2 separate regions of the Homo sapiens genome follow, and region 2 is linked to region 1. Evidence: promoter capture Hi-C in human tissues and cell types (Jung and others, 2019). All regions are on one chromosome and are shown on one strand. The core of a region is centred on a gene start or on the middle of the fragment in contact, and the rest is flanking DNA. Distances in the headings are between cores, read along the strand shown. Region 1 holds the start of CUL1 (cullin 1). Region 2 holds the start of LOC124901768 (a long non-coding RNA gene).

Region 1 (5,158 bases), core at 1,207-3,706:
AATTACTCTTCACACTCTTATGAAGTAGGTATTTTTATCTCAAATTAACAGTTGACCTTACTAGAGCAAAAGATAGTAATTTGAGTTACTGGATATGACTCAAATTTGGGTAACTAGATACAAACCAAGGTCTAAAATCTAAAACTTGGGCTTTTCCAGCTAGTACATCATATTTAGATTTGAAAGTTATATTTTATTTCATTGCTTTTGGCCTAATGTTGTAGCCTGTTGAGACTGTTTTGAACTTTGATTCTGACATCTATCAAATTAATTATCCCTCCAAACTTTGGGTCATCCGAGAGAGACATCAATTTTGCTGAGTTGGGGGGTAAAGATGGAGGAAGGATGTTTTAAAGTAGAAAGAGAGCAGCAGGTGGCCTTGACTTGTGAGGTAGGCGGCAAGGTTATCTGCGCAAAGTAAATGCAATCTGGATGTTAAGTGGACGTAAAAGTCGATGGAATAAATTTGCTGCTAAGAATGATCGTGTAGGCAGGTGGAGAGTAAAGAATAGAAAGGAGTTAAGAACCAGGAATGGAGGCAGTGAGAAGAGAGAGGGTGGTGTGGGTGGACCAAATACTGCTATTAAGGAAAAAGAGAGGGTGGAGGAAACAAACAATACAGGGAAGGTTGACCCACTCAGCCCTTCTATTCAGCTGGAGGAAGTCACAGAAAAGGAGGCTATATTGAATGGTAAGATTGGAGAAGACTGGTTAGGGAATAGGAAGATAAGCTGTTGTCTAAAAAACGCAGTCTCCAGTAAAAGGAAGAAATTGGGACATTTTTTTAAAACCCCACATAGGTACACTGGAAAACATGGGCCACAGGGATAAACCTTCCATTTTTACTTCCAACCTTACCATGTGCTCACAAAAAAAGGTGTTAAATACATGTAAGTTTTGACGAGGTTATTTAAAAGTGTAGGATATAAACCAAGAATTTTTCACACCCCAAAACCCCGCACAAATTAAGGGATTACATATCTGAGTGACAAGTACATACAAACGCATTACTTCTAGAGATACTTAGATGTAGATAAAAGACCACATTTCAATAGAAGGATCACACAGACCAGTGGGATGTTTCTTCTGAGATAACCCACTTTATGCAGGAAACAGTGTGGACTCTGGGGACGGCCTCTGCTCTGGCTGAGGATTTCTGTCCCAGAGCGGTACAGGAATCTGCGTAGTGTTTTAGTTTGGAGAAAACAGGAAGTTACACTCATCACATCTTTTGCCCAGATGATAGAATTCGAAATCCCCCCGGGGTTGTTCATGGAATGAGCCGCTCTGTTATGTTGTGAGCCGTGGTATTAATCAGCCACCCCTCACTAGGTGTTGGGGTTCCACCACGCTTCCTCCACCCCCCGTCACCACAGCAGCGGGTAGTATTTAGGTTGAATATTCCAAATAGTCAATTATGACAGTTAATTTCAAATGAGATGACTTCGAAGTACACGTGAAAACAATACTATTTTATATCACGACTCATGCCATCCGTATGTGTAATCAAAGCCTTCTAAGTCTTGATATGTCCTTACAAAGACGAAGGATAGAGTGAATGTCAAAATTTGCCAAACAGGAGTTACTGAAAGTCTGAAGGGGAAAGCCTAGTTAGGTTTTATCTTAGAAGTGATTTTTAAAACGAAACACGCAGATAAGCTCGAGCTTTCTGGAGCCGATTCCTAAGGCCTTGCAGGTGGTAAGGGGGTCGAGAATTGGCTGAGGTTCCTCGGAAGTCCGCGCCGATTCGGAGGGCCACCTCTGACTTTCTGATCTGGGGTGCAACCCCCAGTCCCTGTCCCGGTCGACAAAGGTGTGGAGTCAGGTTCCAGGCAAGCTGGGGGTGGGGGTGCGCACAAGGGAGGGGCAGGGGACTGGGACCCCCTCTTCTTCGGGGTGCTTCGGGCCGTTTCTCCAGAGGCTGGTGGTGTCCCCGACCCAAGCAGCTCAGCCCCGCTCGCGAGGTCCGAAGTGGCGGGAACGGGTCCTCCGCGGCGGTCCCAAGGCGAGGGAGGCTGTAAAACCTGGCAGAGAATCCGGCGCGCCGGGTCGGGGATGTCTCGGGTGCCGGGGGCAGGGGCCGCAGGCTCGCAGGTAGAAGCTTCCCCACGCGAGCGGGGGCCTCGGCCGCGGAAGGGGCGCCCCCGGGGCCGCCGGCAGCGGCGAGCGGGCGGGAGGGAGCTTTCCGGGCCCCTCCCGCGCCTCGGGCTGGCGGGGCGATGGCGACGACGGTTTCCCGGCTCCCCCGCCCCGGACGCCGATGGCGGTGCGTTCCGGCCCTCCCCCAACAGCTTCTCCCCCGCGGTCGCCGGAGCCGGTGAGGCCGAGAGGGCGGGGAGCCGCGCAGGGAAGGCGAGAGGGCGGAGGTTGCGTGGTGCAGGCGGCGGCGGCGGGAGGAGGAGGGCCGGGCGGGCAGGGGAGGAGGAGGAGGCGGGCGCCGTGTCGCACGCAGCTCCAGGCGGGGCAGCCCCGGTAGCTGAGGGACGCAGCTAGACCTTGGCGGGACGGGGCTTTCGCCGGGGCCCAGGCCCAGGGACCAGGCGGAGGCGTCGCGGGAGCCTTTGGGGCACCACAGAGATGCGGGTGAGTGTCGGCAGCCGCCGGGGCCGAGAGGAGGTGGCGGCGGCGGCGGCGGCGCAGGCCCGGCCCCGAGCCGCGGTGTCGCAGTGACTCGGGCCGCGACGGCCGAAACCAGGCGCCTGGCGAGGCCTGAGCCGCCGAAACGCGGCCGGGCAGAATGGCGGCCGGGCCGGGGGACTCGTGGGCGGAGGACGCCGAAGGTGGCAGAGGAGCGAGCGGGGCCGGGCCCTGAGTCACCCCGGACGGGCCGGGGCGGCCAGGCCTGGACTACGCACTGGGAAAAAGCACGATTCATCGCGCCTGGAGGCGGCGGCCTGGTGGCGCCGGCCCCTTTCCCCGCCGCGACCGGGCTGGGTTCTCGGAGGGTGGGCCGACGTGTGGCCCGGGGCGGCTCGGGCGTCCGCGCCTCGCCTGGTGAGGCGACCTCCGCGGGACGCCGGGACCCGTGCCCTTGCCCCCTCGCGCCCACGCTTCTTCCCGGCGCTGCTTTCCGGCCGACGCGTGTTCCCCTGTGAGCTCTGGGCTCAAGCGCAGGAGCAGCCGCGGAGCCGGGCTCTCTCGCTTTCCGGTTCCCTGCCCGCGGCTCTCGGGTTCCCCGCCTGCATTGTTGCGAACGTGCAGGGCGCTATTATTGGGTAACAGTCGCCCTTTTGCCCCGTTCTCCTGGGAGAGCGGGCCGGGGCATGCGCGCAGGGATGCTAGCCCGGCGGCCGAACCGGACAGAGCCCCCCGGCGCCCGCCTATCGCTCGCTAGTCGGGCCGGGCCCTGCGCTGCGGCCTCGGCGCGCCCCCGGTCCCAACGGGAGCGCGCGCCCTGACCCTGAGGGTAGCCGTGCGCCCGCCAGGCCGCTGGGACTTGGGGTCCCCAGACTCGGGGGTCGTCGCTTTTTTTTCCCTTAAGATCTGAAAGACCCCCGTTTCTGCCACCCGTGCAGTATTGTGTAGCGCAGACATAAGATAAGAAAGAGAGGAATGCTTGTAGACATTCCTTGAAATGAATCCCCAAAGTTAGGGTTTTCTCCCTGGCTGGCTTTGCCAAAAAGAGGATTCTCTTTTCCGATTGGGTCACTCTTGGTTGCTTCTGGTTCGTAGTAGGGGTTAGTGGTAAGTGCGCAAATACTGAATTGCAGTCTACTTAAATATTTGTTTGCTCTGTGTAATTGCTCTTTCCTGTAGTAGCATTAAAATCGTCAAAAGTTCTGAGTGGAGTAAACGATCACACTTTTTGGAATGCACTTAACGAAGCGGCAGAAGAGGAACTAGATTCCTTTTTTACTTCAAGCCATGAGCTTCTAGGACCTAAGCATAGCTTAACGCCTCGCAGAAGTGTGTGCAGTTTTAAGTTTAACACTTCATTTCATGGTGCACCCGAAAATGTACCCGATTTTCTGAAATCCTGGAGAGTGTATTACGTAGTAAAATATGTAATGATGTTTAAAATGTAAAACCAGTCATTCTGTTTGAAAAAGATATTTGGAGATGAGATTTTTCTTTGTTTAAAGAAGGTTTGTTTTTGGATATTGAAAAATGTTTTACTTGAAGGTTCTATTTGTTGTTTTCCATGGTGAGTCGAAATAGTTGCGTTACATTTCAAATTCCAAAGCATGCAAACACAAGACTGGCTCGCTTTAACTCTATTAATGCCCATTTTTGGAGGTTTCAGGAGAGTGTTCCTTAAGCTTGAGAGGGATGGCTGAATTGCTTTCTAAATATGTTAAACTTTTTTTCTCATTGGCTTCATCTTTTAAAAACGATTTTGTCAAAAAACAAACCAAATTTAGATATGCTAGGGTTTTTCACCAATTTATAAAAGCCTCCCTCCCTGAGAGCCACATGCTCAGGTCCTTATAGCCAGCCCCACCCCCCACTCCTAATGTGTGTACCACATCAGAAGACAGACACGCATGCCTGAGCTGATTCTGCATGGTTTCCTTAGATATTACAGTTCATTAGACTCTTGCCACTTACTGAATATTATCTTCTAGCTGTAATTAACTACATGACAGCCTTATTTCCCATACATTTCCGATTGTGAATTCCTCCAGCGCAGGAGATATTCCTTATTTGTTTTTGCGTCCCCAGAGTAACAGAACTTGGTTGTGGTGGTGCCTCAGTTGCTTTTTTTTAATGAATGAGTTTTCTGGAATAATTCTAACTTAAACTTAACGTTTGAAAACATGCGCTGATTTTTGGCTACAGAAAACACAGTCGTTGTGCTTAAGCCGGTTAAGAATTCAAGCTTTATTATACACTTCTCGAGTAAAATTGATCGTCTCTCTCATCCCTCCTTTTCTATTCCCCCTTCCCTCTTCACTTCCCTTCTCCCTGAAACACCCCAGTATCTAGTACAGGGCCCTAACAGAAAAATGCCCAGGTTTTCTATACCTATGGAAGTCTGGGAAAGTGCCAAGAAAACAGGTTGTGAAACTTTAACTTTTTTCCCCCTTAAAACTAGTTTTAAGGTGTGGATGTTTTTACTTTTTGTGTTTGGTGTTTTTTTGGAAACACGATCAGGTTTTTCCCCCCAGGTTGAGTATCCAGCCTTGCCTTTGCAATGAAGCAGTTTGGTAGTTAAGGC
Region 2 (5,158 bases), core at 698-3,197, 270 kb after region 1:
AATGGCAAAAACCACAATTACTTTTGCACCAACCTAATACTTTAACATTTGGTATGTTAAAATATGAATGACTTAAAACAGGAAAATTGAGATTTGATAGGCAAAGATAATAATAGTTAAGGTTTATTGATCACTTTCTAATCCTTTTCATTCCTTTTTTTTCTGGTTAATGTGGGATTTCTTACTAAACTCAGTGAGAGTGCTTATATCTAATCATTGAGAGGGATTTGGCTTTCATTGATAAAACCATTGGTAAAAGGCTGTTTTCAGGATTATGGCAACTTCTCAATGCCAGCAGCAACCTGTCTGAAAGGTGAGAGATCTGAGCATATTAAACCTGGCGTACCCATGTGATTTATAGGAACTATTAAGGATTATCAGGAAAAGTCCCAGGAAACAACCAGTGTGAACACAGCGTGTTCGTGGGTGATGTGAATACAGCGTGTTTGTGGGTGATGTGAAAACAGTGTGTTCGTGGGTGAGGAGTTCTCTGGTCCAGGCTCCGTGGGAAAGTGGATGGAAAGTGCATGCTCTGGGCACTGCTGCCATCTGCTGCTGCCTTGATTCAGGAAGGCATTTTGCAGATCACAGGCAGGGAGACGACAAAAAAAAAAACACCAAAGCTCATTTTGTTGACATTAAATGTTCAACGTTTCTATTGCTGGGCATTTGACACAAATATGTTCATTTACTTTTCTTTGATTCATGAATGTCTTCAGGTATTTGCAAAGGACAAGAGGCTTCCATTTGGTAATTTACGTCTATTTCCCATCATGCAACTACATTTATTTTGAATATCAGTTTGCATTAAGCTATTTAAAATTAAAGGAAGATAATCAGATAATGTATGGCTTTTTGCAGTATTATTTTGTAGGGGTCATATAATATCAGACTTTTTGGAGAATTCTTAAAATAACTCATCCTAACTTATTTAGAGTAGCCACTTCAGAGATTTATAAAATGAAAGTGAAAGCAGTTTTTCTGGCTGGTCCGATGGTAGTGGGTTATCAGAACTTATTAACATTAGTGTCACTAAAGTTGGTATACAACCCCCCACTGCTAAATTTGACTGGCTTTTTACCATTTGATTTTGTATTTCAATCAAACAAGCTAACTTTACAAAATATTCATGTTGGGGGGAAAGCATTCTTACATAAATGTCCCCCTCCTTTTCTTTTTAGGGTCTTACTGTGTTGTCCAGGTTGGAGTACAGTAGCACAATCATAGCTCACTGTAGCTCTAAACTCCTGGGCTCAAGCAATCCTCCTACCTTAGCCTCTTGAGTAGCTGGGACTACAGACACATGCCACCATATCCAGTTATTTTTTTTCCTTTTTTGTAGAGGCAGGGTCTCACTATATTGCCCAGGCTGGTCTCCAACTCCTTTGGCTCAAGTTATCCTGCTGCCTTGGCCTCCCAAAGTGCTGGCATTACAGGCGTTAGCCGCTGTGCCCAGCCTGAATGTACTTTTTTTTTTTTTTGAGCCAGAATCTCAGTCTGTTGCCCAGGCTGGAGTGCAGTGGTGCGATCTCGGTTCACTGCAACCTCCACTTCCCAGGTTTAAGCAATTTTCCTGCTTCAGCCTCCCAAGTAGCTGGGACTATAGGTGCGTTTCCTGTCAGCCCAGAGCCTCAGTCGGGGCCGTTGTCCTCAAACAAGGAGGCCCCTGTCCGCCAGCTTTGCGTTTGCACAGAACGGTTAACTTGACAGCGCTGTGTCCCCCAGCCCTCATATTTATTCACAATCCTTGCTGCACTTTATCTCCAGAATAAAAACCAGTCCGATCCAAAACAGACAGTGTTTGTGTCTGTTTCAATTTTCTGCTCAACCGATTCTGTTCGGTGGAGTCTCTCCAAGAAACTTCTCAATTAAGCTTTCATCAACATTGTTTCAGCATCAGAGTTATTTTTTTCCTTTCCTTGTTTGCTTCCGTCTCTACGGAATGGAATGATCAACTTCCTGATGCACCAAAGGGTTAACAACAAAGGCCTCCTGGAAAAGGAAGAAAAGCGGCCACAGAAAGCTGATTCCTGGGCAGCCGCCCTGGGCCTGAGAGGCAGCATCGCCTTGTGCTGCTGGTGAGAGGGTCTCAAGAATGGCTGAGGGTGCGACCCCTGAGCCTTGATGCCTTGGCCACATTTCTCAGTCCTCCCAGTCCTGGCCCCAGGGATCAGGACCACCCCAGCAGCTGTTGTAGCCCAATCATGATCACCACTATTTCTTGTAAAAAAAGATCCCTGAGGCAGTCAGCAGCTCCAAGAACATTTGATTGTCCAAGAAAATGCCGACCCCAAAAGGGGAGGGATTCTGTGTAAGGAAAGGAATGGGGTGGCTTTATCACCATCCTACACCAAATAAGAACGCCTAGGAGGAGGCAGGGATGCCGGCTCGCTGTTTTAGGAGGAAACAGGGAGGGGGACAAGTGTGCCTTTAAAACGATAGTTAGGGTCAGATGCGGTGGCTCACGTCTGTAATCCCAGCACTTCGGGAGGTCAAAGCAGGTGGATAACTTGAGGTCAGGAGTTCGAGACCAGCCTGCCAATGGTGAAACCCTGTCTCTACTAAAAATAGAAAACATTTTTCAGGCATGGTGGTGGGTGCCTGTAATCCCAGCTGCTCTGGAGGCTGAGGCAGGAGACTCGCTTGAACCTGGAAGGCGGAGGTTGCGATGAGCCCACATTGTGCCATTGCACTCCAGCCTAGGTGACAGAATGAGACTCCATCTCAAAAAAAAAAAAAAAGATAGTTGGCCCTCCGCATCTGCAGGTTCCACATTCATGGATTCAACCAACCGCTGACTGAAAATATTAGGGGGAAAAAATAGATAGTTTTGTCTGTTCTGAACATAGACTTTTTCAGGGTCATTATTCATTAAAGAATACAGCATAATAACTATTTCTATATCATGTACATCGTATTAGGTATTATCTAAATCTGTACTTGTAATCTAGAGATGATTTATAAGTATATGGGAGGATGTGCATAGGTTATATGTAAATTCTACATCTTTTTTTTTTTTTGAGACGGAGGTTTTGCTCTTGTCACCCAGGCTGGGAGTACAATGGTGTGATCGCGGCTCACCGCAACCTCCACCTCCTGGATTCAAGTGATTCTCCTGCCTCAGCCTCCTGAGTAGCTGGGATTACAGGCACCCACCACCACACCCGGCTAATTTTTGTATTTTTAGTAGAAACGGTTTCACCATGTTGGCCAGGCTGGTCTCGAACTCCTGACCTTACGTGATCCACCCACCTCAGGCTCCCAAAGTGCTGGGATTACAGGTGTGAGCCACCACGCCCGGCAATTCTACACCATCTTATGAGGGGCTTAAGCAACCATGGATTTTGGGATCCAGCAGGGGTCCTGGAACCACTGCCCACAGATACCGAGGGACGACTGTAGATGACTGTACATACCACATTGCGTTTACTCATTCATGTCCCTCGATGGGTACTTGGTTGCTTCTACCTTATGGCTAATTGTGAACTATGCTGCTATGAACACAGGTGTACACATATCTTCCCTTCTAGTCCCTGCTTTCAAGTCTTTTTTTCTTTTTTCTTTTTTTTTTTTTTTTTTTTTTTGAGACAAGGTCTTGCTCTGTCACCCAGACTAGAATGCAACGGTGCTATCATGGCTCACTGCAACCTCCGCCTCCCAGGTTCAAGTGATTCTCTTGTCTCAGCCTCCGAAGTAGCTGGAACTACAGGCATGTGCCACCATGCCCAGCTAATTTTTGTATTTTTAGTAGATTTGAGGTTTCACCATGTTGGCCAGGCTGGTCTCGAAATCCTGACCTCAAGTGATCCACCCGCTTCGGCCTCCCAAAGTGCTGGGATTACAGGCATGAGCCACCGTGCCCAGCCAAGTTTTAAAATTATTTGCAGACACGGGGGTCTCACTATGTTGCCCAGGCTGGTCTCGAACTCCTGAGCTCAAGCTATGTTCCCACCTCAGTCTCCCAAAGCACTGAGACTACAGGCTTGAGCCACCGTGCCCGGCCAGATTCTTTCGGGTTCACACCCAGAAGTGGAATTGGTGAATCATAAATAAGGTAATGCTAATTTTTTGTTTGTTTGAGACGGAGTCTTGCTCTGTCGCCCAGGCTGGAGTGCAGTGGCACGATCTCGGCTCACTGCAAGCTCCGCCTCCCGGGTTCACGCCATTCTCCTGCCTCAGCCTCCCGAGTAGCTGGGACTACAGGCGCCCGCCACCACGCCTGGCTGATTTTTTGTATTTTTAGTAAAAACGGGGTTTCACCGTGTTAGCCAGGATGGTCTCAATCTCCTGACCTCGTGATCCGCCCACCTCGACCTCCCAAAGTGCTGGCATTACAGGCGTGAGCCACCGCGCCCAGCCGGCAATGCTATTTTTAATTTTTTGAGGAACTGCCAGACTGTTTTCCACAGCGGCTGCACCATTTTCTGTTCCCACCAGCAGAGTGCAAGCGTTCCAATTTCTCCATGTCGATTCATTGTTTTTGGTCATATCTCACAAGTCAGTCAGCCAAGGTGGGTGGGGTCACGGCGTTCCTAAAATATTATACTTAAAAACGAGCGCAATCCTGGCCCTCGGTGTCAACCAGCTGACAGGGCCGAACGACCGCTGGGCCTCTGGCGCCCCCTGCAGGACGCAGACAGGGTGACAAGCGCTGGCTCGAACCTGGACAGCCCATGGGAGATGCTGCTCGGGGCTGGCCTGGTGGTGCCGATACTCGCCTCTCGCAGAGGCTCCAGGCAAGTCCCAGAGAAGGTGAGGCTCCCTGGGAGCCTTCACGCAGGAGAACAAAAGAAAGCCCGGTGTTCCCGCTCCTCACATAAGAAGCATCAGGGTAAGTGTGGGGGGCGCACAGAGAGGCAAAGACACGTAGGGGTTTTTTATATATATAGCAAGACATATATATATATGTCTTGCTGTGTTGCCTAGGCTGGAGTGCAGTGGCGCCATCTCAGCTCACTGCAACCTCCGCCTCCCAAGTTCAAGCAATTCTGCCTCGGCTTCCCTAGTGTGTGGGATTACAGGCACGTGCGCCACCAAGCCCGGCTAATTTTTGTATTTTAAGTAGAGACGGAGTTTCACCATGTTGGCCAGGCTGGTCTGGAACTCCTAACCTCAGGTGATCCGCCCACCTCGGCCTCCCAAAGTGCTGGGATTACAG

What was found. Contacts are between HindIII fragments. The study calls those that stand out against the background at their distance.
Region 2: a fragment that was not itself captured here is called in contact with the fragment with the promoter of CUL1 in region 1 in 1 of the 25 tissues and cell types used here (heart left ventricle).

Annotation. Positions count from the first base shown.
Region 1 is chr7:148,696,447-148,701,604 of GRCh38, forward strand. It overlaps CUL1 (cullin 1), which reads left to right and starts at 2,457. Exons shown (of 22, transcript NM_003592.3): 1 at 2,457-2,583. RefSeq lists silencers at 1,312-1,371, 2,032-3,061, 3,362-3,461 and enhancers at 1,642-1,691, 2,759-3,484. The HindIII fragment of the contact is 3,848 bases long and covers 1-3,180 here.
Region 2 is chr7:148,962,332-148,967,489 of GRCh38, forward strand. LOC124901768 (a long non-coding RNA gene) reads left to right here and starts at 4,703. Exons shown (of 2, transcript XR_007060580.1): 1 at 4,703-4,831. It also overlaps RNY4. RefSeq lists enhancers at 1,664-2,165, 2,166-2,665, 4,747-4,796. The HindIII fragment of the contact is 4,639 bases long and covers 1-4,267 here.